Regions from separate parts of the Homo sapiens genome. Here regions 2, 3, 4, 5, 6 and 7 are each linked to region 1. The links are contacts of gene promoters, found by promoter capture Hi-C in blood cells and fetal thymus (Javierre and others, 2016). All regions are on one chromosome and are shown on one strand. The core of a region is centred on a gene start or on the middle of the fragment in contact, and the rest is flanking DNA. Distances in the headings are between cores, read along the strand shown. Region 1 holds the start of NUDCD3 (NudC domain containing 3). Region 2 overlaps LOC102723334 (a long non-coding RNA gene). Region 3 holds the start of MYO1G (myosin IG). Region 4 holds the start of LINC00957 (long intergenic non-protein coding RNA 957). Region 5 has its middle 36 kb from the start of PURB. Region 6 has its middle 7.8 kb from the start of POLM. Region 7 has its middle 8.4 kb from the start of PURB.

Region 1 (4,006 bases), core at 1,057-3,556:
TCGTTGCATAAAACGAGTGAACATTTGGAAGAGCTGCATAACACAGTGGACCAACATTTTCAAATGACTAATTAATACATGATGGTATAAAATCATGCATTTATTAACGATCCATTCAAAGTGAAAGACCAATCGATATTAATGTAACAGAGTATGAAAAGTCTATAGATACAGTTTTAGATTCCATATGGCAAGTAACCTTTAAGAAACTACCAGTTACAGGGCTGGGTGCAGTGGCTCACACCTATAATTCCAGCACTTTGGGAGGCTGAGAGGGGAGGATCGCTTGAGCCCATGAGTTTCAGACCAGCCTGAACAATGTAGGCCCAACCTCGTCTCTATAAAAATAATTTAAAAATTAGCCAGGCACAGTGGCATGTGCTTGTAGTTCCAGCTACTCAGAAGGCTGAGGCAGGAGGATTGCTTGAGTTCAAGAGTTCAAGGCTACAGTTAGTTATGATCACATCGTTACATTCCAGCCTGGGTGACAGAGGGAGACCCTGCCTCTTAAAAATAAAAAAAATAGAAACTATCGCTTGTAGAAGAATTTTGATGTCATTTTAAAGACAAATAGCCACATTTATTTGAAAAGACAAAATATTCCTCTCATTTGCAACTGTCTGTGTGAGGTTGCATGTTTTCATATACTTCAATGAAAACAACATAATGCAAATTATGTTGCAGTGAATGCAGATGTGAGAATCTTGTGGTCTTCTTTTTTTTTGTGGAGACGGAGTCTAGCTCTGTCGCCCAGGCTGGAATGCAGTGGTGTGATCTCGGCTCACTGCAACCTCTGCCTCCCGGGTTCAAGCGATTCTCCTGCCTCAGCCTCCAGAGGAGCTGGGATTACAGGCACCTGCCATCACGCCTAGCTAATTTTCGTATTTTTAGTAGAGACAGGGTTTCACTGTGTTGGCCAGGCTGGTCTCGAACTCCTGATCCTCCCGCCTCGGCCTCCCAAAGTGCTGGGATTACAAGCATGAGCTACTGTGCCGGCCAAATCTTGCTGTCTTCTAGTAGGCTCATTAAAGAGATTTGCAAAAATGTAAAACTATGTTACTCCTCTCACTGAACTTTTATTGCTTTGAAGAACATTATTTTTTGCATAAAAGTATGTTAACATGTAATGTGTTTTATGGTCATTTAAAAATGATTAAATAAATATTTAAACATTTTATGTTTTAATTTCTAATGTGGTAAATATTGATAAGCATAACCCATATCAACAAATGTTCTTTGGAATGTTCAACAAATTTTAAGAGGATTAATGGTCCCTAAATCAAGAGTTTCAGAACCACTGTTCTAGGGCAATTTACCTGAGTTGGATTTTATTTACAATTCATTAAAGCTTATACACTATGAAGACATGTTAACTTGCATGTTTTAATCTAGAAGAGGTGCAAATCATTTCTATACACTAGAAATGATAATCTATGGTTTTATCATCTTGTAGAACACCAGCCAGCTTTGTATCCAACCTAATCTTACTCTAATGCTTTGTCAAAATGTTTAATCTCCACTTCCTCAAAATGCTTTTGAACCAGCTTTACCATATCATTGTTAATTTGCTGAAGAAATCTTGGATATGTGTTCATGATATATTTGTATGAGTGTCATGCTTTTTACTTTTTTAAGATTATACTTTGACAGACACTAACAACATATGTATATATGACGTATATATGTATATACATACTATACACACACATACACGTACATATTTCACAACGATGGCATACGGATTCTCTATTCTGAATCTAGCTCTTTCCACTTAATATACGTTGAATGCACTCTTTATTTTCTTCGTCATCTTGACTTTCTTCTGATGCAACGCCCTGAGTTTAACTCACAGATCTGTTAATAAGAAACCCATACATCCCACATATACGCATTTTCCCGTCTCTGGCTCACTAACAAAAAGCTTACCCTAGCCCCATCTTTAACCATAGGTTCCAAATACCCAGGCTGGAATTCAACACAGAAATAAGAAAGGATCCACAGACAACGTGACAAAAATCCGAGCAGTCACGTGACACTGCACGCCCCATAATTTTTTTCCGCCCGCTTCAAACATGGCGGTCAAGCCCTCGCAGCGCAGCAGAAGCCACGGGCTTCCTTCCGCGTAGGAACCTCCTTGCTGCCCTTGTCGGGCTCTTTTGTCTAAGACCACCTCAAGGCAAAGCCCGTGGGGCAGCTGGGTCTGGGGAAAACAGCCCGGGGCCGCGGGGGCCGAACGAGCACGGACCGGAAGTTCCGCAGCCGCGCCGTCCGGCGGAGCCGTTGGCTGCGGACGCCGGAAGTGGCCAGTCGGCAGGTCTGAGGCGGCGCTGTGTGTGTGAAGCGTACCTAGGGCGGGAGGCGACATGGAGACAGGGGCGGCCGAGCTGTATGACCAGGCCCTTTTGGGCATCCTGCAGCACGTGGGCAACGTCCAGGATTTCCTGCGCGTTCTCTTTGGCTTCCTCTACCGCAAGACAGACTTCTATCGCTTGCTGCGCCACCCATCGGACCGCATGGGCTTCCCGCCCGGGGCCGCGCAGGCCTTGGTGCTGCAGGTGAGGCGGGCGGGCCTGCGGTCTGGGGAGCCGCCGCCCCCGGCCTGCCCTGACTCCTGGCGCCCGCTCCTCCAAGCTCTCCCAGCCTGTTTCCTCCTTTTCCTGGTGTCCTGGGGTTGAGCTTGTGAGAATGGCTTCAGTAATTTGAAGCGCGGATTGGATGTCAGCTTATTCCGCTGAGGTGTTCGCTCCGGACGTCCTGAGGTTTCAGAAGTAGTAAGCCGACTGTTAAGAGCCCTACTCAGCACCCGCCAGCGCGTACCCCTCACGGTGCTGGGGGCCGCTAGTCAGGGAGCGAAATCCATGCAGGCCAGACAGAAGGAAGGACATTTACAGCAACAGAAACGTGCATGCCCCAGAACTACCAAAGACTTGAGCTGGCGGGGATGACGGAGGCATTGTGTTGATCAATGGGTGTGGTCGCTTGTTTGAAATGTGACTTCCCAGGTCAAAGACTGTCAATGTAGTGCTTATTAAAATTTCTATTTGAGCTTAATTCCGTACCCTCCAGGTTAAGTTTATTGTATGTTGGAAACGCTGTCAATACTCATTCAGTGAAGTTGACTGGGCACTTTTGAATGTAGTGGTAAGCAACCTTTTGCTGAATGTAGTTTACACTCTTAGTTGCCGCAGGTGAGGGTGATACGGGTGTTTAAGTAATGGTTTCTCTCTCCTTGTGACACAGTTAAAGAGAGAAAACCCAGAAAGTAATAGAAAACTTTTTAAGGGCAATTATTTGATGGAGCCCATTGTAAAGAAAGGAAATAGAAATGATGGTTGAGAAGTGAAGTTTTTATAAGAGAGGTGGGACTTCTGATGAGATTAAAAGAAACTATTCAGCCAAGTATTAAGCCTATTTGTAGAAACCCAAGAAGATAGAAATGCTGATGATACCTCCCTCAGTTCTCTAGATGTTACAGTTTATAAAATGCTTCAGATGTTTCCTCCTGAAGTCTTAATGCATGCTGCAGGTTGGTAAGATGTTACTTTCCTCAGCAGAAGCCAAAGCTTTGAATGTCTTGGTAGCTACCAGGGTAATAGGGCCAAACGAGGAATGGGGTTCCATTAGGATTCAATTTCAGAACTTAAGGCTATTCCTCGTCCTTGTCAGTGGCATAAGTGCCATCTTAGTGATGAGAGAGCTGTTGGAGGTGGCCTTTAGCAGGATCTTATGGCAGGTTAATGAAGTCTTGCCATTTGATCTTCAGTGTCTCTGTGAAACAGATAAGTTTCAAGTTTACGTACCAATTCAGCAAGGTTAAGTGATTTGACCAAGAACACACAGCCAGTTCACCGTAGAGCTGAAACTAAAAATTTCATTTTGTGGATTCCAAATCTTCCTGTTCTGTTGTTTAACCATTCCATAGTAGGATGAGAACACTTTTGTCTAGATTGATTGTAGTTTGCAGAAAGATGTGGAGGAGAAAGGAGTATATACTGAGTAATATGTA
Region 2 (4,006 bases), core at 774-3,273, 510 kb before region 1:
ATATTCAAAAGAAATACTTGGTCTCTAGACCTCTCCAAAGGCATAAGTATTCCATTCTCTGCAAGATAAAGCAGAGATAGTGGAAACACCCTTTCAATCTGCCTTCTGCAATAATCCAGCTTGCCACATTTACACACGCAAATGATGTAGCGCATCTGGTTGTCATTATTTTCCCACCATTCACAGAACAAAGGCCTGATATTTAAAGTCTTCCACCGTCTTCCACAAATGCATATTTATCACTCCATAATACAGTAAACAACACTACTAAAACTTCTCTTAGCCTAACTCTGGATGTGCTGACTTCCTCAGGCTGTTCTTATCCATCAGAATACCTTTGCCCTGTCTTTGCATACACAGGTTCATGCTTCAAGCAAAAGTCCACTGGCTAATGATCAGATGGTGATAACTGGGAATAAAGACAATAAAATGAGAAAAGCAAAAAGGCTGTTAGCTTGCTATAACAAGGGAGTCAGCCACCATCATTTGTATTTGGATGAGACTCAATGTCAGGCAGAGGAGTGGGTAAGCTTTATAGTGAAAAAAGGGAAGCCTCCAGGGATGTCCTCATTTGAGGCTGTTGGCCTGGGGAAGCAAGGGGCAGGGCATCCCAAGTGATTGGTTAGGGGCACATATTTGTCTTTCTCTGGTTGCTCCTAAGCTGGAAGCAGGACCGAAAACTAGGAAAGCTGCCAGTTTTTTTTTAATTGACAAATAATTTTTTGTTTCTTTTGTATTTTTAGAGATAAAGTCTCACTCTGTCCTTCAGGTTAGAGTGCAGTGATGCAGTCATGGCTCACTGAAGCTTCAACCTCCTGGGCTCAAGCAATCCTCCCATCTCAGCCTCCCAAGTAGCTGGGACTACAAGGACGCATCACCAAGCCTGGCTAATTTTAGTATATTTTTGTTGAGACAAGGTCACACTATGTTGCCCAGGCTGGTCTCAAACTCCTAGGCTCAAGCAATCCTCCCTCCTCAGCCTCCCAAAGTGCTGGGATTATAGGCATGAGCCATCGCACCCAGCTAACACATAATAATTGTACATATTTATGAGGTACATGTGATTTGTGTGTGTGTGTGAGGCAGAGTCTCACTCTGTCACCCAGGCTGGAGTGCAGTGGCATGATTTCAGCTCACTGCAACCTCTGCCTCCCAGGTTCAAGCAATTCTCCTGCCTCAGCTTCCCAAGTAGCTGGGATTACAGGCATGCACCACCACACCAGGCTAATTTTTTTTTTTTTTTTTTTTTTGAGACAGAGTCTTACTCTGTATTGCCCAGGCTGTAGTGCAGTGGTGCAATCTCAGCTCACTGCAACATCCACCCCCCAGTTTCAAGCGATTCTCCTGCCTCCGGAGTAGCTGGAATTACAGGTGCCCACTACCACGCCCGGCTAATTTCTGTATTTTTAGTAGAGACAGGGTTTCACCATGTTGCCCAGGCTGGTCTCGAACTCCTGGCCTCATGTGATCTGTCCACCTTAGCCTCCCAAAGTGCTGAGATTACAGGCATGAGCCACTGCACCCGGCCAAAATACATGTGATATTTTGATACATGCATATGATGTGTAATAATAAAATCAGGGTATTTAGGATATTCGTCACCTGAACACTTATTTCTTTGTGTTGGAGACATTTCAGATCTCTCCTAGCTATTCTGAAATATACAGTACATTGTTATTAACTATAGTCATCTTACTCTGCTATGGAACATTAGAATTTAGGCTGGGTGTGGTGGCTCAAACCCGTAATCCGAGCACTTGGAGAGGCTAAGCTGGGAAGATCACGTGAACCCAGGAATTGGAGACCAGCCTGGGCAATATAGTGAGATCCTTCTTCTACAAAAAATACAAAAATTAGCTGGGCATAGTGGTGTGCACCTGTGGTCCCAGCTACTCAGGGGCCTGAAGTGGGGTCCTTGAGCCCAGGAGGTCGAGGCTGCAGTGAGCTGTCATTGCACCACTGCACTCCAGCCTGGGCAACAAGCCAGATCTGTCTCACACACACACACACACACACACACACACACACACCCATGAGAAATTATTGCTTCTATTTAGCTGTATGTTTGTACACGCTAACCAACCTCTCTTCAGCCCCCTACTTTCCCCCAACACACACCCTTCCCAGCCTCTGGTGGCTATCATCCCAGTCTCTATCTCAATGAGATGAATATTTGTTTAGCTCCCACATATGAGTGAGTAAATGCAATACTTGTCTTTGTTTTTTTGTTTAAAAAAAAATTTACAGGGATGAGGTCACTATGTTGCCCAGGCTGGTCTCCAACTCCTAGGTTCAAGCCATCCTCCCACTTCAGCCTCCCAAGTATTGGGATTACAGGCTTACATAGTGACCTCTAGCTCTATTTATGTTGCTGCAAATGACATTTTCATTTTTTTTTCCTATGGCCAAATAGTATTCTATTGTGTATATATACTAATTTTTTTTGACATGAGGTCTCACTCTGTCACCCAGGCTGGAGTGCAGTGGTATGATCACTGCTCACTACAGCCTTGATCTCATAGACTCAAGAGATCCTCCCACCTCAGCCTCCCCAGTAGCTGGAACCACAGGTGTCTGCTATCACACCTGGCTAATTTTTTTACTTTTTGTAGAGATGAGGTCTCTATGTTGCCCAGGCTGCTCTCAAATTCCTGGGCTCAAGCAATCCTCGCGCCTCAGCCTCCCAAAGTGCTGGGATTATAGGCTTGAGTCACCACGCTCAACCTTATTTTTTGTCTTTTTTTTTTTTTTAGAGACAGGGCTTCCCTCTGTTACCCAGGCTGGAGTGCAGTGGCATGATCTTAGCTCACCGCAGCTTGAGCTAAGGAGCTGGGCTCCTGGGCTCAATGGATCCTCCCACCTCAGCCTCCTAAGTAGCTGGGACTGCAGGTGCGCCAACACCCTTATTTTTTGCCTTTTTGATAATAACCATTCTAAATGGGGTGAAATGGTATCTCATTGTGGTTTTGATTTGCATTTCCCTGATGACTCATGATATTGAGTATTTTTTTATATGTACCTATTTGTTTTTTGTACATCTTCTTTTGAGAAATGTCTACTCAGATTCTTCGCCCACTTTTTAATGGATTATTTGTGGTTTTTTGCTGTCAAGTTGTTTGAGTTCCTTGTATATTCTGGATATTAGTCCCTTGCCGCATGAATAGTTTGCAAATATTTTCTCCCATTCTAAAGGTTGTCTTTTCACTCAGTTGATTGTTTCCATTGCTGTGCAGAAGCTTTTTAGTTTCGCTTAATATAGTCCCATTTGTCTATTTTTGGTTTTGTTGCCTATGCTTTTGAAATTTTAGCCATAAAATCTTTGCCTCGTTCAATGTCTTGAAGCATTTCCCCTATGTTTTCTTCTAGTAGTTTTGTAGTTTCAGGTCTTATGTTTAAGTCTTTAATCCATTTTGAGTTGATTTTTGTATCTGGTGAGAGATAGGGTGCCAGTTATTAATTAAGTCCTAGGCTTTGGGGGCTGTTAGAAAAGTTACTCCTGGATTGTCACTAGAGATAACACCTGGCTTCCTGCAAGTATGACTTACAGCAGGCTTGTTTCCTGGGCTGGTTGCTGTAGATAACGAATTGGTTTCCTGAGGAGGTTTCTGCAGGTTGTCAGTCAGAGTTCTAGTTGTACAAATGGTCCAGCCATTGTCTATTTGTATATTCAGTCTCTCGTAACAGACACCAATGAGACAATTATAACATAAAACAATCTTTTCTTTCTCTCCAGGTCACACCTTGGCTGTAAAGTGTCCTAACAGCCACCTACTTATGATTACTGCTTTCTTACCAATAACCTCCCCAGCCTGTTGTGTGGCTCCTACATCTTGAACAAAAGCGACCAAGGTACCCAATTACTAAACTGCCCACACTTCATGAAAGCAACTTTATAGCCATGATACTCACTTCCCCTTGTCCCCTCTTCAGAATTACTCAGGGCCAGCCCAAACCTTACAAAGTCCCCTTCCTATTCCCTCGTAATGAGAAGCAGCCCTTCTTCCTC
Region 3 (4,006 bases), core at 498-2,997, 490 kb before region 1:
GGGAAATACCCAAAATAGTATGATTACGTGACAGATGAAAAGTTTGCGAAGTTCAGATTTCGGTGTCCTTAACGTTTTACTGGAATACAGCCATCTTGGTTCCACTGGTTGGCTTGACTCCCTGGGGGTTGGGGAAGTGAAACTTGAAAAGACAGATGAGCTGGCAAGAGTCTGGGTGAGAATTCCCAGACTTGAGTGTAGGTTTGGGAAACCCTTCAAAAGCACCAGCCCAAGAGCCTGGGGGTGGGGAGGAGGCCACACTTGTCAGAGTTCCGAAGGACTGACTTTGAATTTGCCCAAGAGGAGCCCCAGGTCTGGCCCAGGGTGGAGCCAGAGGCTGCCCACTTACAAATTTGGGGATTTTTCAGGCCAGTGGCCCCTTATTGCAGTGGTGCGTGACTCAGTTTTATTAGGTACTTGAATAAGTACTTTCAGTTTTATCAGGAATGCATTTGCTTTAAGGTATTCGAGAGAAAAAAATAAACTTAACTTGCCTATCCATTACTTCAAAGTTTAAAAAATGGGATGACTGAAAGACAATAGTTAAACTAGTGCTTATGAGTACAACAAATCTCAAAGGCAGCACATGAATGACTGAAGTTTGGGAATTCTGGAGTCTGCCCTTTGACCTCCCTGTATGAGGGAAGGGGTGAAAGAGAAATGTCACCAGTCTATTTGTAGGATGAGAGAGAACTGCATCCATTTGACCTTTGATGAGAGAATCGCCCCAGTGTTCCTAGAGGATGGGTGTGACCTGCCCCAGTCTGTCCTGGGATGAAAAAGAACTTTTTCCAGTCTGCCTGGAAGCTAAGAGAACTGCACCCCTCCCACTTCTTCCAGGAGCACTAAGTGTCAGGAATGCAGTGTCTGGAGATTTTGGCCACTCCCTAAATGCAGCCGCTCCCCAAATGCGCTGCCTCATCTTCAAAGTGCAGGGACAGCAGCTCTGAGATGAGGCCACAGGGCTCCAGGCATGTTCCTGGTCCTCACTGCAGTTTATGGGGGATCGGCTGGACACAAGTACAAGGCAGAGGACAGTTAGGGGCACAGGGGTCCCACTGAAGGCCAGCCCCATGCAGAGGATGCTCTGGGGTCCTCTGTCCCTCCCCCGTGGCTGGGGTGGGGAATTGCAGTGCTAGGACCACTGGCCCTTGGCAGGTCACACAAGAAGCTTTGCTCGTCTACACCCCAGTGTGGCCTTCACACTGCAAAGAAGGCTGTTGCCCCCACCCCAAAGGCCTGGGCATTAGGATCCTTTTTCATTTTTGTATTAATGTACAATGTACATACAGTATATTGCATCTAGTGTTCAGTTCTGACTTGAGAGACACACACAGCCAGGTAACCAAGATCACGTCAAAAAATCTTTCTTTAAAGTCCCACAAGTGACTCTAACGTGCTGCCAGGGTTGGAAGCCAACCCACGGAGTCTTGTCTCCTGCTTGTGGGTGGAGGGGAGCTTCCGAAGGAGGCCAGCGAAGAACCCTCCAAAGCGGGGAGGACCCAGCATCCGGCCCCTCGCCCCTGGCGTGCAAACGGGTCAGACCGTTAGGCACAGCCTCCTTGTGGGGCGCAGGGACAGGAAGCAGGGTTTAGAGCACCTCGAGGGGGAAGGAGTGGCAAGTGCGGAGGGCAGCCCCTCCCAGGACTAGAACCCACTTCCTACTTTACACCAGCACTGGAGGAGGCTGGTGGGGCAGGGCGGGGGCGGTGGGGCCTCCCCTAGCCTTCCCTCCCCCTCTCCTTCACTGTCCTTCCAGCAGGCACAGGAAGGTGAGGCAAGGTGTTTCCAGCCGGCAGGATGGAGGACGAGGAAGGCCCTGAGTATGGCAAACCTGACTTTGTGCTTTTGGACCAAGTGACCATGGAGGACTTCATGAGGAACCTGCAGCTCAGGTAGGCCCAGGGCAGGAGGCAGTGGCTCCCCTCCTCCAGGGTCTCCCACCTTGCGTCCTCGCAGAGACCTGAGGGAAAGAGGAAGGCACGCTGCTGTCCAAGGGAGGGGGCAGTGGCACACACCCACCCAGACCAGATGGGGCTGAAATGAGTGCCTCAAAGCACGGCCCCAGGGGACAGGAACAGACAAGGAGGCAACTGTCCCTGTCAGGGCTGGCAAGTCAGCACCGGAGCTGCCCACCACCTCAACCCACCCCTGCCTCCCACACAGTCCAGGCATCTTCTGCCCCTTCTTTCCTGCCCGACGGGGCCAGGGCATGACACTTCTTGGACAGATACATACCAGGCACTATCTTTCCAGGAGGGACCAGGGGCACCTCCCTCCAGCCACTTCCCAGCCAGTTGTTGATGCTCCCTCGATGCATCTCATCCATGGGGCCTGGCCTGAGCCCTGGGGACACTGAGATGAAGCAGTCAGGCTCCACCCTAGGGTCCAAACATTCCCACCAAGTTGAGGTGACATTCTCCTGGGGTACATGGAGTATCACAGGACACAGTTGGTAGAAGTGATATTGGAGCCCAATTTACCATCAAGGAGGGCAGGTGGAGGGCAGGGAGAAGCCCGGGAGGTAGGGGCATGGCACAGTAGGGTGGCCATACAGGCAGCTGGGCTTCCTGCCAGGACTCCCAGGGAGGGGCAGAAGGCCACTCGCTGTGTACTCCGGAAGCTCCCTGGGGAGAGCTTGGGGACCAGGATCCCCACTAAGCACCGAAGGCAAGAGACCACGAGCCTGGCTCAAAGAGGAGGGCTAGCCAGGACGTGAGCTAAGCACTTTGTGCACATTGTTCTACCTCATTCTTATAAAATGAGCTTATGAAACATTGTCCTCTCTATTTTGATGAGGAGAACACTGAGCCCTGGAGACGTGGGTGACTTGTGCCCTCATCCCCAGCTTGTAGGAGGATGGGAGCTAGGCCCAGGAAAACCCATGTCAGAGGTGGTGGAGAAAGAGGAACCTCAGGACAGGCCCACCCAGGACAGGCTGCCGGGAGACAGGGCCATCCAGGGAAGGGTGGGTACCACACACCAAGGGGAGATGGGTCTGAGGGGCAGGCCTGCCAGTCCTCCTCCCAGGGGCAGAAAGGTCAAGAGAAGGGCAGACATCCACCCCCACTGGGGACCAGGTTTGTGAAGGAAAGGGTCAAGAAGTCTGAGGCTGTGCCAGGGGAGAGGCAGCAGCCACTGGCCACAGGCTGGGGGGTCGGGGGTGTAAAGACAACGACATCAACTCCCTCCCTGTCATCTGGGTGGGGCTGGGTGGGGTCCCCTTTTGTCTCTGGGTTCCCGCCCAGGCCTTGAGACAGGAAACAGCCGAGGAGGCCCCTCCTTCCCCTCCCAGCCCAGTCACTTCTCAACCCCATCTCCCCATCTGCCCTGCGGGGTTCACCCCAGGAGCCAGCCCTGACTCACGGCACCCAGTGCAGTCTTGGGCAAGTCTGTTTCCTTTGCAAAATGAGTGGTCATGTTTCCAGTGACCTTGGGATCCCTGGGGAGACCACTGTGGACCCCAAACTCTATGCCGCAATGGAGACAGTCTCTGAGTGGCTCAGCTCACCCAGGATGGCACCAGGGAGACGCAAGGTCAACACCTGCCCCCTTCTTCCTTCTCCACTCTCAGCCCGTCAGGGTGGGAGCGCTGGCCTACTGGGGCCAGGCCCTGATATGGGCTCTGGCGAAAGGCCTGTGGGTGCCTGTAAGCCTGTGAGTGCTGAGGCCTACCCCTGCTGTGTCCAGGTTCGAGAAGGGCCGCATCTACACCTACATCGGTGAGGTGCTGGTGTCCGTGAACCCCTACCAGGAGCTGCCCCTGTATGGGCCTGAGGCCATCGCCAGGTACCAGGGCCGTGAGCTCTATGAGCGGCCACCCCATCTCTATGCTGTGGCCAACGCCGCCTACAAGGCAATGAAGCACCGGTCCAGGGACACCTGCATCGTCATCTCAGGTACCTGTCCCTGCCGCCGGGCCCCCACCCTCGGCATCTTCATTTGTGAACATTTGGGAGGGCCATTAGAGCATCTCCTGTGCCCTGTGTCCTGATGGGGGCCCTAG
Region 4 (4,006 bases), core at 945-3,444, 450 kb after region 1:
TCATTCATGAATAAACAGTTTGCCCTGCTTGTGTACCTGTCCCCCTCCTGGGCGGATACGGCAGGCAAACGGTGCAAGGGCGGCTGCCGGGAGAAGGTGGGCAGCTGGAGTGGGACTGGGGGAGACAGGATCAATGTGACCTGCGGTGGTCCCCAGGTGGCCGGGATGCAGTACCTGCACGGCGTCCTGGGCCCCATCATCAACAAGGTGTTTGAGGAGAAGTACGTGGAGCTGGACCCCAGCAAAGTGGAAGTTAAGGATGTAGGGTGAGGCCGGGGGTAACTCCGGGGGGGTGCGGGGCGCAGCGGCAGCGGGTTGGGATCAGGCCCTGTCAGCATGTGTGTTTGTGCTTCTGCCCACCCGTGTATTGTCCCCTGTGTCCGTGTCCCGGCTGCTGTGAGAGCCACTGTTCCTGTCGTGGCCCTGGCGCTGACCGTGACCTCCTCTGCCAACCCGCCCCGTTCCACGCAGGTGTTCCGGGCTGCACCGCCCGCAGACCGAGGCCGAGGTGCTGGAGCAGAGCGCGCAGACGCTGCGCGCCCACCTGGGGGCCCTGCTGAGCGCGCTCAGCCGCTCGGTTCCCGCGTGCCCCGCCGTGGTGCGCGCCACCTTCCGCCAGCTCTTCCGGCGCGTGCGCGAGCGCTTCCCCGGCGCCCAGCACGAGGTGCGCCCTCCACCCGCTGGGCTAGGCTGGGCCGGGTTGGACTGGGCTGGGGCGAGGGGCGGGCGAAGAGCGGTGGGGAACCAGGGAGCGCTGGGGAGGACCAGGGAGGCTGTGTCCCGGCGAGGGTCAGGGACGGAGCCTAAGGGGAGGGGGCTGCCAGGAGCCCTGGTCTGGGGGACTCCAGCCCGCGCTCTTCCGCACCCCTCCAGAATGTACCGTTCATCGCCGTCACCAGCTTCCTGTGCCTGCGCTTCTTCTCTCCCGCCATCATGTCGCCCAAGCTCTTCCACCTGCGGGAGCGCCACGCGGACGCCCGCACCAGCCGCACCCTGCTCCTGTTGGCCAAGGTGCGGGCCTTGCGGCCACGGGCGGGATGCACAGCTGGGTGTCCTACCGGGGCCCTGGCCTGGACTGCAGAGTGTTCCCTACCGGCTCCGGCGAGGCCACTGGCACGCCCACGTAGGCACTGCACTTCACAGTTTGCAAAGCCTTCCTGTGGCCACCTTGTCCGAGTTCCATCTCATGGATAAGGGAACAGGCCTGCGAGGGGTCGGGGGTTGCCAAGGCCGCCCATCCTGTCGGTGGTGAATCGCGGGACCTTCCAACCCAGGTCTGCTTACTCTCAGGCTGCACCTATGTGCCCGGCACCGGGGTGGGGTATCCAGTGCAGCAGCGTCAGTTAAACCTACAGAGGAAGGCCCAAGTGGTCTCAGTTATCATAAGGCATCAAACTTCATGATCCTCTCCTCCCTGATCCCTAGTGGGGCTGGAGGGGGCCCGTGGGCATGGCCTCTGTCGCCTCTGCCTCCATCGCTACAGCTGAGTAGCAAAGACTTGGGGAGGGGGGGTGGGAGGGGGTGCAGTGGCTAGGCCCCTAACCTAGCAGAACCTGGTCCTTCCTGCTGTCACCTCCAGGCAGTCCAGAACGTGGGCAACATGGACACGCCGGCTTCCAGGGCCAAGGAGGCTTGGATGGAGCCGCTGCAGCCCACCGTGCGCCAGGGCGTGGCGCAGCTGAAGGACTTCATCACCAAGCTCGTGGACATCGAGGAGAAGGACGGTGAGCGCCGCCCTGCACAGACCCGCCCACAGCCTACTGCTGACGTTTGCTCCGCCCTTGAGCCCCACGGCCCCACCCACCGCTGTTTGTTCCTCTCGTGGCCCCACCCACCGCCTGCTGTTGACATTTGCCAGGCCCCCAGGCCATAGACCCACGCACCACTGTTTGTGCTTCCTGTGACCCTGCCCACTGCCTGCTGTTGACGTTTGCCCCACCCCTAGACCCATGGCCTCACCTCCCATCATCTGTGCCTGTTGACATTTGCTCCATCCTTGAGCTCCATAGCCCCGCCGCCACCTGCTACTGACGCGTGTCCCGCCTCCAAGCCCATGGCCCTGCCTTCCTCAGTCCACCTGTCACCCCGCTCACCACCAGCTGTTGATGTTTGCTCCGCCCTTGAGCCCCATGACTACGTCCACTGCCTGCTGTTCAGATTTGCTCAGCCCTTGAGCCCCATGGCCCCGCCCACTGCTCCGCCCCCCCCCCCCAGTCCCGCCCTCATTCCCTGGGCTCTCTATTCCCCTCCCTCCCTGGCCTGGCAGAGCTGGACCTGCAGCGGACGCTGAGTTTGCAGGCGCCACCTGTGAAGGAGGGGCCACTCTTCATCCACAGGACCAAGGGCAAGGGCCCCCTCATGTCCTCCTCCTTCAAGAAGCTCTACTTCTCCCTCACTACCGAGGCCCTCAGCTTCGCGAAGACGCCCAGCTCCAAGGTGGGTAAGGAGGGAGGCCGGCAAGTGGGGCTCTGAGAGGCCGGCAAGTGGGGCACCTTAGAGGCACCTGTCCCCTTCCTTGGAGCCCACTTGAGGTACCCCCGGGGTCAGAGAAGAAAGCCAGGTGTGTGGCATCTGTACTGCTTGTCAGAACCTAGGAGGGCCGGGCACGGTGGCTCACGCCTGTAATCCCAGGACTTTGGGAGGCCAAGGCGGGTGGATCACTTGAGGTTAGGAGTTTGAGACCAGCCTGGCCAACATGGAGAAACCCCGTCTCTACTAAAAATACAAAAAATCAGCCGGGTGTGGTGGTGGGTGCCTGTAGTCCCAGCTACTCGGGAGCCTGAGGCACGGGAATCGCTTGAACCCGGGAGGCAGAAGTTGCAGTGAGCCGAGATCGTGCCACTGCACTCCAACCTGGGCAACAGAGCAAGACTCCGTCTCAAAAAAAAAAATGAATATGGAGGAAGTTGATCCGACCTTACCAGGTTGTTGAGGATTAAATGAGATGATCTCCCTAAGGGTCCTGACCCAGGGCCTGGCAGGTAGTACTATTTAGGCAAATGGTATTATTAAAGATAGTACATCACCTGGGCTGCTAGATGAGTAGGAGGCTAGGGCAAACAGGGGAGGCTTCCTGGAACGGGCAGGAATATAGAAGCATGGAATCTTGGTGTGGGAGGGGATCTCAAAGATCACCTTGTACAGCCCTCTCTGAGTCATGGGTCACCTCTCCTGCAAGCTCTCTTCTCCCAGGAAGGGCTGAGGACATACTTCCTCCATGGACCTGGTGACTGCTTGCTGTACACCTGCCCCTAGTCATGCAGGCTATGGGGATGATCTTCCAGGAGTACCCAGCCTAGCCCTGGGCAGGTGAGAGCAGGCTAGGAGTAGGTGAAGGAGCTCATCACCCACCCTGTTCTCAACCAGCTCAGGGGTCCCACCAGATGAGGGGCCCGCCCCTTCCGACCAAAGACCCCTCAGATGATGATAATTATTTTTTGAGACAGGGTCTTGCTCTGTCACCCAGACTGTAGTGCAGTGGTGCGATCATAGCTGACTGCAGCCTCAAACTCCTGGGCTCAAGCAATCTTCCTGCCTCAGCCTCCTGAGTAGCTGGGACTACAGGCACGTGCCACCAAGCCCAGCTAATTTTCTTTAACATTTTTTTTTTGCAGAGATGGGGTCTTGCTATGCTGCCCAGGCTGTTCTCAAACTCCTGGCCTCAGGCAATCCTCCTGCCCCAGCCTCCCAAAGCACTCAGATGATTATTATACATCTTCCTTGCCAGGGTTGAAAGATTTGACTACATGGGCATTATTTAATTCTGGTCCCATTTTTTTTTTTTTTTTTGAGATGGAGTTTCACTTTTGTTGCCCCGGCCAGAGTGCAATGGTGCGATCTTGGCTCACCGCAACCTCCGCCTCCCGGGTTCAAGCGATTCTCCTGCCTCAGCCTCCCAAGTAGCTGGGATTACAGGCATGCACCACCATGCCCGGCTAATTTTGTATTTTTAGTAGACACGGAGTTTCTCCATGTTTGTCAGGCTGGTCTCGAACTCCCAACCTCA
Region 5 (4,006 bases), core at 88-2,587, 430 kb before region 1:
CCCAACCTATTCCTTTAATTTGGCCCATCCCTTCGTTTCCCATAAGGGATACTTTTAGTTAATTTAATATCTATAGAAACAATGCTAATGACTGGTTTGCTGTTAATAAATATGTGGGTAGGCCGGGCGCGGTGGCTCACGCCTGTAATCCCAGCACTTTGGGAGGCCGAGGCGGGTGGATCATGAGGTCAGGAGATCGAGACCATCCTGGCTAACAAGGTGAAACCCCGTCTCTACTAAAAATACAAAAAATTAGCCGGGCGCGGTGGCGGGCGCCTGTAGTCCCAGCTACTCGGGAGGCTGAGGCAGGAGAATGGCGTGAACCCGGGAGGCGGAGCTTGCAGTGAGCCGAGATTGCGCCACTGCAGTCCGCAGTCCGGCCTGGGTGACAGAGCGAGACTCCGTCTCAAAAAAAAAAAAAAAAAAAAAAAATAAATATGTGGGTAAATCTCTGTTCGGGGCTCTCAGCTCTGAAGGCTGTGAGACCCCTGATTTCCCACTTTACACCTCTATATTTCTGTGTGTGTGTCTTTAATTCCTCTAGCACCACTAGGTTAGGGTCTCCCCGACCCAGCTGGTCTCGGTAAAAAAGAAACAGGTGAAATTGATTGTAATCATATTTTATTTAAAATGGTTGATCTAAAACATTATAATTTCAATGTATCATCAATATGAAAATGATCGATACTACATTTTACATTGTGTGCACTATGTCTTTGACGGCCAGTGTACTCTTTACACTTACTGTACTTCTCCAGTGGACTCGCTGCACTTCAAGTGCTCAGAGCACGTGTGGGTGCCAGAGTGGACAGCATAGAGCTTCGGAGGCCTGCAGGTACTCCCCAAATATTTCAAGAATGAATGAATGAATGAACGTAGGCATGAACTGTGGATTGCCACAAGTTCTCACTGGGACCATGTCCTATACCCACCTCATCAGGGACGGCCACCAGGGGGCGCGAGAGTGCTAGTTGACGGGCTAGTTGACAGGCTCCACATGGCATTCTTGCTGAGAGCCCAGGCCTGGGGTGGGGTGTCCCGGGGCCACAGGTCTCACAGGACTCAGCAACCCAGGGCGTTGAGTCCCCATGCCCCCCACCACCACCCCCAACCATCTGCTGCCGGCCACTTTTCCATGCTTCAGCCATCCCCTGGTGAGGAAGGGGAGGAGGGCTGGCACTGGTCAGGCAAGGAGCAGGTCTGAGGGTCTCAGAGAGGGATCCCTCTGGCTGCTCAGTAAGGCACAAGCCCCTTGACTCATCAAGTGTGAGGGTCCCTGCAGAGCCGACATAATAGCTGGGAAGAAAGGCCGCTCTATGGCAGAGTCAACCCTCTTTGTGGCTCTGGCTCAACAGTGGAGAGACACCCTCCTCCCTTTTCAGGGCGGCTCTCCCACTGGGGCACCTCCCTCACTGATGCTATCTCCTCGACAACCACTGGTTTACAGCCAGCCTGTCTCTAGCCCCATTTCTCTTCCAGGTTGTCACCTCTTGATCTAGCCCGCCCATTCAGTAGGTAAGAACACCCAACCCCCACCAATCTCTCCCCACACATGCCTTCTGCGCTTCCCGGAGGTTCCTGCCAGTGGCCCTTGAGTTGCTCCTTCAGGTGCTCCCAGTAGGTGCTCCCCCAGGTGCTCTTCCTAGATGTTAGATGCACCTCCTTTTTTTTCCTCTTCCTTTGTTTTTAAGCACCTAGGGAATTTTATTTATTTATTTACTTATAGATGGAGTCTTGCTCTGCTGTCCATGCTGGAAAGCAGTGGCATGATCTCAGGTCACTGCAACTGCTGCCTCCCAGGTTCAAGTGATTCTCCTGCCTCAACCTCCAGAATCGCTGGGATTACAGGCATGTGCCACTACGCCTGGCTAATTTTTTTGTTTTGTTTTGCTTTTGCTTTTTTTTTTTTTTTTTTTTGAGACAGAGTTTCGCTCTTGTTGCCCAGTCTGGAGTGCAATGGTGCGATCTCAGCTCACTGCAACCTCCGACTTCCAGGTTCAAGCGATTCTCCTGTCTCAGTCTCCTGAGCAGCTGGGATTACAGGCGCCCACCAATATGCCCAGCTAATTTTTGGTATTTTTAGTAGAGAAGGGGTTTCACCATGTTGGCCATGCTGGTTTCAAACTCCTGACTTCAAGTGATCCACCCGCCTTGGCCTCCCAAAGTGCTGGGATTATAGGCATGAGCCACCGCACCATGCCATTTTTTTGTATTTTTAGTAGAGAAGGGGTTTCACCATGTTGGCCAGGCTGGTTTCAAACTCCTGACCTCAGGTGATCCACCCACCTCGGCCTCCCAAAGTGCTGGGATTACAGGCATGAGCCACCACACCCGGCCATTTTTTTGTATTTTTAGTAGAGACAGGGTTTCACCATCTTGGCCAGGCTGGTCTCAAAACTCCTGACCTCAAGTGATCTGTCCGCCTGGGCCTCCCAAAGTGCTGGGATTACAGGTATGAGCTACCACGCCCAGCTGGAGTTCTTTATTTAATGATGTCCTACCATGAAAGTTCACATAACTCCTTTTTTTTTCAGTTTTTATTATTCTTTTATATAAATCCTCTGGATCATAACTGCTTCTGTCAAACCATGATACCGAGCTTTATGACAACTCAGAAGTAAGGACTAAGAGAAGGCAAATATAATGCCTTCAAGATCAAGAGACGTTTATGTAGTTCAACTGTTAGAAACAGCTCAACATTGAGCTAGTGAGTAGAGTGTGTATGTCAGTATCCACAATATACAAACCCTTCACGGAGCTGCAAGACCTTTTAACTGTCCTTCAGGTGCTTCCAAATGCTGGTCCTGTGGAACTTCTTTCTTTCTGAGGCTGGTTTTCTTTCAACACAGTTTGGGGTCTGACAATCATGTGTTCAGATTTCCAGGAAACGTGACTACCTTCCTGTTGAGTCCTTGTTTCTCCTACGCATCTTAAAATGACACTTTCTGCCAATAAAGCTTTCCTTGTTTCTACAAATAACTTCTCTTCATCTGTTTCTTTAAGTTTCTGCAGCTCAATATACTTCACAAAGCATTGACAGGTAGGCTTGAAGCTTGGATTGAACAGATCAAAAGCTTTTGACCAGATTTGTAGGCTGAATAGAATTTTGCTCCAATGGGCTGGGCGCGATGGCTTATGCCTGTAATCCCAGCTCTTTGGGAGGCCAGGGCAGGTGGATCACCGGAGGTCAGGAGTTCGAGACCAGCCTGGCCAACATGACAAAACCCCGTCTCTACTTAAAATACAAAAATTAGCTGGGTGTGGTGGCGTAAGTAGCTGGTGTAATCCCAGCTACTCGGGAGGCTGAGGCAGGAGAATCACTTGAAATCAGGAGGCGAAGGTTGCAGTGAGCCGAGATCATGCCATTGTACTCCAGCCTGGGCAAAAAGAGCAAAACTTCATCTAAAAAAAAAAAAAAGAATTTTGCTCCAATGGGATCCTCATGATACCAGATGTCCTCCATGAGAATTTTGGCTTTGCCATATCATAAGTGGGGCCTCTGGAAGACTGGCTCCTTCCACAGGGGAAAGGTGTTATGTATGTGATGCTAGAGAGGTTTCTCCTTCAATTTCTCCTACAGCACTCCTGCTCAAATCACATACTGAGTCTGCAAAAAGATGCTCCCTGCGATTTCCAGCCAGCTGTAGATGTTCCTCTTGAGTGCTTCCTGAGTGGTCCTCAAGGGTGCTCCTCCTAGATTCTCCAGATGCTCCCCAGGATACGCCTCCCATAAAAGACATCTAGGTGATTTTCCACTCCGTGAATTCTTAGGACACTTTCTTAACTGCTTCTGGTTTCTCTGTTTTCTACTTAACTTTGCATATTCCTGTTAGATCAATCTTTCTAAAGTGCAGCTCTGAAAGGGGGTATGGTGGGGGGATACTTCTGTGCAAATGCCTGAAATACCTCCAGTGGCATCTCCATCAGAATAAAACCCAGACATCTGCATAGAACATGTAATGATCAAGTCAGAGTATTTAGGATATCCATTGCCCTAAGCATTTAT
Region 6 (4,006 bases), core at 984-3,483, 400 kb after region 1:
TGGCTTCAAACAGCAGTGAGAGAGCATTCCTCACGATTCTGTGAATTGGCTGCTCCACACGGTGTCAGCTGGGGTCTCCCATGCAATGATGGTCAGCAGGGAGCTGGACTCAGTGCTGGCTGTCACCTGGGCACCTCGGTCCTCTGTCCACGTGGCCTCTCAGCACCCACAGACCAGACCAGCTTTTTCACATGGCAGTAGCTTCCAAGAGGCAAAAGTGGAAGCTGCAAGCCCTTGCAAGGTTAAGCCCACAAGTGCCAAGATGTCATTTCTGCTATATTCTGTTGGCCAAAGCAAGTCCCAGAGCCAGCCCAGAATCAAGGGGAGGCCTAACCCCATCTCTTGCTGGGGGAAGCATCAAAGTCACTCTGCGGAAGGGTCACAGATGGAAGGGACTCCTGCAGCCATGTTTGCTATAACCAACCATACCCAGCATAGGCCATGTCCTCCCTAGGGAATTGTCTGTCCTGCCCCACAGGAATGTCATGAGGCAGGGGTTTCTGTATGTCTTATCTGCTATACCTCCTGCACTTAGAAGAAAGCCAGGCACACAACACACCTTTTTGTTTGTTTGTTTGTTCTTGAGACAAAGTCCCACTCTGTCGCCCAGGCTGGAGTGCAGTGGTGTGAACTCGGCTCACTGCAACTCCGCCTCCCGGGCTCAAGCAATTCTCGTGCCTGAGCCTCCCGAGTAGCTGGGATTACAGATATGTACCACTACACCTGGCTAATTTTTGTATTTTTAGTAGAGATGGGGTTTTGCCATGTTGGCCAGGCTGGTCTCAAACTCCTGGCCTCATGTGATCAGCCCCCTTTGGCCTCCCAAAGTGCTGGGATTACAGGGGTGAGCCACCGCGCCTCAACACACTTCTGTTGGGTGAATGGTTAGGAGGATGGCTCTGTGGTCAAATATCCACTGTTGAAATCACATTTCTGCCTCTTATGCGTGTGACTACTTTGGCAACATTATTTTAGCTCAAAATCTCAGTTTCCCTATCTGTAAGATAGAAAAAAATGACAGTAGTGCCAATTCCATATAATTGGAAAAAGAACAAAAATACAGCATAAAAAATAATTAGCACAGTCCTTGGCCTATTTCTCGCCCTCCATAAATGTTAGCAGCTGTCACTTCCCATCCCTGTCTTCTACCCCAACTTCCGGTCTGGGTTCCACCCCTGACTAGGACTTTGGAGACTCCCTCCATGGCCATACTCCTGGCTTCCAACCCTCCTTCCTCCTTGACCTTCCATGTACCAGGCAGCACGTCCAGCCTCTCAGGACTCTCCATCCCAAGAAACAGCATCCATGACAGCCTTGGGGCTTCCAGCAACTTTCTAGCCCAGGGCTTCTCCTTGGTGCTAATAAATGGAACTCCCCATGTTTGGATCTATTTTATTTCAAGAATGACAGTGGCAAATGGGAAAATACTAAATAAATGACATTGGGTCTGTTTATCCAGGAATGTAATGACATTATAGTCTTCCCTTAACTTAAATGAAATAATTCATGATGGAAACAGTGGACAATTTTGTCACCTTGTGGTAGAGTTGAGGTCAGCAAACATCCCTCTTCTCATAAGCCTTCTTAGCCCCCTGGACCCTTCACCATTGCCAGCCATACCTGAACTGCTGGTTGAGCCTGGGCTGGTTAAACAGATGAACCCAAACAGCCTTCATTTTAAGGACACTTCGCTCCTCCATAAGGAATTCTGCAGCCAAATCCCCTGGCAGGGAGCTGGGAATTCTTCTCTGGACCTCTGGCCCAGTCTTCCCACTCCGAGTCCTGTCCCAGGCTTCCAACTACCCTCTCCCCACCACCCCCGCCACCACCGGTTCTTATATGGAACCCATCCAGCAAGCGGCAATGCACACACTCCTTAAAAGGCAGTAATGGTTTCTCAAAAATAAAGCGTCTCTTTTTGTTATATAACCAGCCAGGTCCCAGGCAAGCCACTAGTGCATCTACTGTCAAAAATACGAATCCCACAGCTCTGATGGATCTACACAAATAAAGAAAGGCTGGCCACTTGCCCCAGGTCACAGAGTCCAGAATTGATCCCTGGCAAAGTGGGACTCAGGCCAGCGGGTTAAAGGGTGGCCCCCCAAATTCATTTCCACCCAGAATGTCAGAATGTGACCTTATTTGGTGTAAGGGTCTTTTCAGGTGTAATTAAGATAAGAATATTGGCCAGGCACGGTGGCTCATGCCTGTAATCCCAGCACTTTGGGAGGCTGAGGTGGGTGGATCACGAGGTCAGGAGTTCAAGACCAGCCTAACCAATATGGTGAAACCCTATCTCTACTAAAAATACAAAAATTAGCCGGGCGTGGTGGCATGTGCCTGTAGTCCCAGCTACTTGGGAGGCTGAGGCAGGAGAATTGCCTGAACATGGGAGGCAGAGGTTGCAGTGAGCCAAGATCATGCTGCTGCTCTCCAGCCTGGGTGACAGAGTGAGACTCCATCTCAAAAAAAAAAAAAAAAAAAAAGAAAGAAAAGGAAAAAAAAAATAAGAATCTTGAGATGAGATCATCCTGAGTTGGGATGGTCTTTCAGGCAAGGTGGCTCATGCTTGTAATCCCAGCACTTTGGGAGGCCAAAGTGGGAGAATCACTTGAAGCCAGGAGTTTGAGACCAGCCTGGGCAACATAGTGAGACATCATCTCCACAAAAAATACAAAAATTAGCCAGGCATGGTGGCACACGCTTGTAGTCCTAGTTACTCAGGAGGCTGAGGCTGGAGATCACTTGAGCACAGGAGTATGAGGTTGCAGTGAGCTATGATTGTGCCACTGCACTCCAGCCTGGATGACAAAAAAAGAAAAAAAAAAAAGCCTAAATCCAATGACTAGTGTCTTAGTGTCTTTATAAGAAAAGGAGAAGACAGCCAGGCATGGTGACTCATGCCTGTAATCCCAGCACTTTGGGAGGCTGAGGCGGGTGGATCACTTGAACCCGGAAGTTCGAGACCAGCCTGGCCAACGTGGTGAAAATCTGTCTCTACTAAAAATACAAAAATTAGCCTGGCATGGTGGCAGGCAACTGTAATCCCAGCTACTGGTTGGGGCTGAGGCAGGAGAATCACTTGAGCCTGGGAGGCAGAGGTTGCAGTGAGCCGAGATGGCACCACTGTAATCTAGCCTGGGTGACACAGCGAGACTCCATCTCAAAAAAAAAAAAAAAAAAAAAAAGAGAGAGAGAAGGAGAAGACAGACACAGAGCAGGCCCAGAGGGAAGGAGGCCATTGCAGGCGGGGCAGAGGGTGGAGTGATGCTGCCACAAGCCAAGGAGCACCAGGAGCATCAGCAGCTTGAAGAGGCGAGGAGGGATCCCCCCTAGAGCCTTCAAGGAAGGGTGGCCCTGCTGATAGCTGGAGTTTTGGCTGTAGTTTCCAGAACTGGGAGAGAATAAATTTCTGTTGTTTTTACCCACCTAGTTTGTGATAATTTGTTATAGCGGTCATGGGATACAAATATACCAGGTTACTCTTAGCCACAGCAATGTGCAGGAATAGATCAGAGAAGGCCCAGGGCCAGCACTGCTGGGGCCAACAGCCCTCAGGAGCTCAGGGCCAGCAGCATCAGCAGTTTGGCCACACACTCTCCCAAATGCTGCTGGCAAGCAGCCCACGGGAGGGAGGAAACCAGGGCAGCAGGGGCAGGCCCCCAAGCAGGGCCACGTCCTGGTCCCCGCAGGCCTCTGGACAGAACGCACACGGGTGGAAACAGCACCAAAGGGAGCTTGGAGAGAGGTGTGCCACAGCGGGGGCGAGGTGGGGAGGGGGGTGCAAAGGTCGTGGGCACTGAGGTATCTCCCCGAGGGACGTCTAGAGCTGAAAGTGGGAACAGGAAACAGCAAGATGAGATTCATCTTGGAAAAATGCAAACTCAATCTGGGCAAAAATAATCGAAAACATAAGTAAGGGATGGGCAGGAATAGTCATGGCTCGGTGGGAGCAGGGAGGGAGGTTGCAGCCTCAGGGCAGCGGAAAGGGCCCAGCCTGGCCGGA
Region 7 (4,006 bases), core at 1,030-3,529, 400 kb before region 1:
TCTCCTGCCTCAGCCTCCCGAGTAGCTGGGATTACAGGCATGCGCCATGACACCCAGCTAATTCTTTTTGTATTTTTAGTAGAGACTGGATTTTGCCATGTTGGCCAAGCTGGTCTTGAACTCCTGACTTCAAGTCATCTGCCCACCTCGGCCTCCCAAAGTGCTGGGATTGCAGGCGTGAGCCACTGCGCCCAGCCAAATTTCTATATCAATCTCTGTGTGTGTGTGTGCATGTAATGAAATCATGAGCTCCTACCAATATCTCTAAATCTAATCCAACCATAAGGTTTGTCCTAATCTTCCCTCTTTCTGTATTTTAACTTCCTTCAGTTAAAGATGTTTTTAAAGGTCATGGATATAGTTCAGGCTGTTATCATTAATGACAGCATCCAGAAACCCTGCCCCTCCATCACATGGCCTTGTTTTGTGCTCAGCACAGACTTGGGCATTGTCCAGCCTGTGCGAGACCCTTGCTCTAATCAGGCAGAAGGGCAGACGGAGTAACCAGGCAGGGGTCTGGTTCTGAGCCAGAAGGCCCTTCTGGAAGGTTCAGGGGAGGCAGAAATAGAATCCCCAGGAAATGAGGGGTTCCAGTGGAGCAGGGGGAGCGCTAGGATTTTCTGAGTGAGATGAGAAGCAAGAACAGATGGGCTGTTGGCTGTCTCCACAGAAAGACCACAAGTGACCTATGGGCGCTTGGAAAGGTCAAACCTGTTCCCCACAGCAGCTGGGACCAGAGCCCCTGACTGGAGGCTTTGTTGGCACAACAGCTGGCCCTGGCCAGGGGTCAGGGGCAGCTGGGAGTCTAGGAGGAGGCTTCTCATACTCAGCTGTTGGCTGAGAGACAGGGCATGAAGGGCAGAAGCCACCCCACAGAAGGCCATGTGTGTAAGTCCTTCCCCTATTGTTTCAGGATATAAATGAGTGGGTTCAAACACCAGTGACCCTGGTTATGACTGCCTCAGACCTGCTTATTCATCACCAGCTGATATGCTTTCCAACCACTATGTTCCTAGGCATCCTGTTCCCTTGAAGATCATTGCATTTGGGGGTTTCAACTCCCTCATCCAAGTACATCTGTGTTTTATTTGCAGGTTCTCTCCACCCAACATTAGCTGAAACCAGTAGAGTCTTATAGAATATGGAGCCAGCCAGGAGATTTATGGAGAAAGCTCAACCATATTCATGAATAACATCAATAACAGCAGCAACATATTTGAGCATGGATGTACCAAACACATCCACAAGTGGCCTGCACACAATACCTTCCTTACTGCTCAGGCAGCTCTGTAAGGTGCAAGTGCCTGCCCTCCAGGAGGGCATGACCCACAGAAGTGAAGTAACTTGTCCCAGGAACACTGGGCAGTGAAGGTTTGGAATGTTTCAAGGCTCCAGTTTTTTGTTTGTTTGTTTGTTTGTTTGTTTGTTTGAAACAGAGTCTTACTCTGTCATCCAGACTGGAGTGCAGCGGCACAATCTCTGCTCACTGCAACCTCTGCCTCCCGGGCTCAAGCAATTCTCCTGCCTCAGCCTCCCAAGTAGCTGGGATTACAGGTGCCCATCACCATGCCCGGCTAATTTTTGTATTTTTAGTAGAGACGAGGTTTCACCGTGTTGGCCAGGTTGGTTTCAAACCCCTGACCTCAAATGATCCGTCTGCCTCTGCCTCCCAAAGTGCTGGGATTACAGGCGTGAGCCACACGCAGGGCCTCAAGGCTCCAGTCCTTTAACATATCAATCTTCCAGGGGCTCATGAGGCCCCCAGGGAGCACTAGGTGAGTGCAGACTCCACAGGGCACAGCAACTGTGCCTAACGCAGCTTCCCAACCTCTGGGCGTGCCAGAAGAGGAACTACAAATCATGGAGGGCAGCTGATTTGATTGATAAGCCCTGAGGCTGAGAACTCCGCTTCCTGGAACCCAATACTAACACAAGGAATTGATTTTCTACCTTACATAAGACAAAAATCCCCAGAATAAACGGCAGGTGTGGGCCTTCTGCCCAGAGCCAGAATTAGGCAATCTCTTTAGACTGTGCAAGATGCACAAACTTCCTTTCAGCCACACAAATCCAAAAAACATCACTGGAGGCTTCAAAGCAAGCCAGCTGGATACTTGGCCCAGAGTGTCAAGCTGCAAAGCATTTGCAGCACGGGGTGCCTGGCCTGGGAATCTCAGTGTCAGCACCCGCTAGGATGGCATATCCTGGACACCAGTTTCTCCTAACTGTCATCTTGTCTTGTTCCCTCTAGTTCAGTTTAATGCCTGATGGGCAGGAAAGGCAAAGAAGACTGCAGCTTCTAAGCAGCTCAAAGCAGGAGGGCCCAGGAAGCACATATGCAGTCTCCATCCATCGCAATCCCCTTTTGACCATCCCCAAGCTCTCCTGCCAGCCTGTCCCTGACCCTGGGACCTTCAACCATCTCCTCGTCCTCTTCTCAGCATCAGGCACAACAGGCAACGTCTCACTCACTACGGGAAGTTGAGCCAGCCAGGACGTGAGGAGTTTTCAGATTGTGGTCAGGAAGCACTCCCGGCAAACACAAATGGGGACAAACTACAAAATAATCGGCCTTCATATTTCAAAATGTCACTCATGTGAAAGACAAAGAGAGACCCAGGGATGGCTCCAGATTAAAGAGAGTGGGGTAGCTGGGCGCGGTGGCTCACATCTGTAATCCCAACACTTTTCGAGGCCAAGGTGGGCAGATCACCTGAGGTCAGGAGTTTGAGACGAGCCTGGCCAATATGGTGAAACCCCATCTCTACTAAAATTACAAAAGTTAGCCGGGCATGGTGGCACACACCTGTAATCCCAGCTACTCAGGAGGCTGATGCAGGAGGGTCGCTTGAACCTAGGAGGTAGAGGTTGCAGTGAGCCAAGATAGCGCCACTGTACTCCAGCCTGGGTGACAGAGTGAGACTCTGTCTTAAAAAAGAAGTGGTGGTTGGGGGTGGGCCTGTGGCAGTTAATGCTGCAAAAGTCTCCTTTGCTGTAGAGGATGCAATCAAGACACTTGGTGAAATCTGAATAATAAAGTCTGCAGATTAGACAACATTGTCAGATCTGTGCTGGTTTCTCGATTTTGATTGTTGTGCTCTAGATAGGTGAGAGAATGACCTTGAATAGACACTGAAGTGTTTAAAGGTAAGTGGTCATCATATTTCAGTTTATTCTCAAATGGTTCAGGAGAAAGAAAAATGTCAAATAGCGTGTGTGTGTGTGTGTGTGTGTGTGTGTGTGTGTGTGTGTGTAGAGACAGAGATGAAGAAACATAAAGATGAAAAGCGTAATGACACAAACACCGTGATGTTAACATTTTGGGGAATCTGTGTGAAGAATACTATTATTGCAGCTGTTCTGTAAGTTTACATTTTAAGTTTAAAAGGAAGGCCGAGCTCATGCCTGTAATCCAACTTTGGGAGGCCAAAGCGGTTAGATTGCTTGAGCTCAGGAGTTCGAGACCAGCCTGGGCAACATGGCAAAACCCCATCTCTACAAAAAATATTTTAAAAATTAACTGGGTGTGGTAGCACATGCCTGTAATCCCAGCTACTCTGGGAGCTGAGGTGGGAGGATTGCTTGAGTCCAGGAGGCAGAGGCTGCAGTGAGCAGAGATCACGCCATTGCACTCCAGCCTAGACAACCGAGCGAGAACATGTCTCAAAAATAAACAAGTAAAAAGTCTACAAGGAAAAGCAATGAGGGAAAAAAGGCGTGCCCACCCTGCAATGTGCAAACCCTTCCTCATTCTCCAGGCCTGGTTCTCCTGAATGCCCAGCTTTGTCTGCCCATGGCTGGCCATCTGAGGCTACTGTCCCCAGGATCTGGCACCCCCACAACCATCTCCCAGCCCTGGCAAGGCCCACTTCCATCTGCTGCCTCCAGCCCAGACTCCCAGCTCCTCCAAGGTGCAGATCTAGCCCATCCTGCTTCTGCCCTAGTCTTGGCCAGGCCCTGGGGCTGTTCAGCAGGCTTTTAGTCCAGCCCAGGCCTCACAGGTCTT

What was found. Contacts are between HindIII fragments. The CHiCAGO score rates a contact against its expected background, and 5 or more counts as called.
Region 2: a fragment that was not itself captured here is called in contact with the fragment with the promoter of NUDCD3 in region 1 in 3 of 17 cell types (monocytes, fetal thymus and naive B cells); the score reaches 6.6 in monocytes.
Region 3: a contact is called between the fragment with the promoter of MYO1G here and the fragment with the promoter of NUDCD3 in region 1, in 10 of 17 cell types (naive B cells, monocytes, total B cells and 7 more). The highest score is 9.6, in naive B cells.
Region 4: a contact is called between the fragment with the promoter of LINC00957 here and the fragment with the promoter of NUDCD3 in region 1, in 1 of 17 cell types (M0 macrophages). The highest score is 5.4, in M0 macrophages.
Region 5: a contact is called between a fragment that was not itself captured here and the fragment with the promoter of NUDCD3 in region 1, in 2 of 17 cell types (naive B cells and total B cells). The highest score is 6.6, in naive B cells.
Region 6: a contact is called between a fragment that was not itself captured here and the fragment with the promoter of NUDCD3 in region 1, in 13 of 17 cell types (M1 macrophages, M0 macrophages, M2 macrophages and 10 more). The highest score is 9.5, in M1 macrophages.
Region 7: a contact is called between a fragment that was not itself captured here and the fragment with the promoter of NUDCD3 in region 1, in 2 of 17 cell types (monocytes and naive CD4 T cells). The highest score is 6.7, in monocytes.

Annotation. Positions count from the first base shown.
Region 1 is chr7:44,488,958-44,492,963 of GRCh38, reverse strand. NUDCD3 (NudC domain containing 3) reads left to right here and starts at 2,306. Exons shown (of 6, transcript NM_015332.4): 1 at 2,306-2,555. The coding sequence starts at 2,364. RefSeq lists silencers at 363-489, 2,555-2,724. The HindIII fragment of the contact is 1,642 bases long and covers 1,924-3,565 here.
Region 2 is chr7:44,994,872-44,998,877 of GRCh38, reverse strand. It overlaps LOC102723334 (a long non-coding RNA gene), which reads left to right. Exons shown (of 4, transcript XR_428139.4): 3 at 3,734-3,849. Among named protein-coding and RNA genes, the nearest start is that of CCM2, 3.3 kb to the left of the region's middle. RefSeq lists enhancers at 3,599-3,648, 3,669-3,728, 3,769-3,818, 3,899-3,948. The HindIII fragment of the contact is 2,431 bases long and covers 808-3,238 here.
Region 3 is chr7:44,976,756-44,980,761 of GRCh38, reverse strand. MYO1G (myosin IG) reads left to right here and starts at 1,747. Exons shown (of 22, transcript NM_033054.3): 1 at 1,747-1,895; 2 at 3,691-3,899. The coding sequence starts at 1,801. RefSeq lists enhancers at 8-137, 1,365-1,414, 1,445-1,514 and a silencer at 1,715-1,804. The HindIII fragment of the contact is 4,854 bases long and covers 1,174-4,006 here.
Region 4 is chr7:44,037,237-44,041,242 of GRCh38, reverse strand. It overlaps LINC00957 (long intergenic non-protein coding RNA 957), which reads right to left and starts at 2,194. Exons shown (of 3, transcript NR_072982.1): 1 at 2,094-2,194; 2 at 881-1,349. It also overlaps the pseudogene RASA4CP. RefSeq lists silencers at 619-728, 819-908. The HindIII fragment of the contact is 32,056 bases long and covers 1-4,006 here.
Region 5 is chr7:44,919,234-44,923,239 of GRCh38, reverse strand. It overlaps the pseudogene MRPS23P1. Among named protein-coding and RNA genes, the nearest start is that of PURB, 36 kb to the right of the region's middle. The HindIII fragment of the contact is 3,245 bases long and covers 1-2,959 here.
Region 6 is chr7:44,088,290-44,092,295 of GRCh38, reverse strand. No RefSeq gene overlaps it. Among named protein-coding and RNA genes, the nearest start is that of POLM, 7.8 kb to the right of the region's middle. The HindIII fragment of the contact is 6,706 bases long and covers 1-4,006 here.
Region 7 is chr7:44,891,898-44,895,903 of GRCh38, reverse strand. No RefSeq gene overlaps it. Among named protein-coding and RNA genes, the nearest start is that of PURB, 8.4 kb to the right of the region's middle. The HindIII fragment of the contact is 9,175 bases long and covers 1-4,006 here.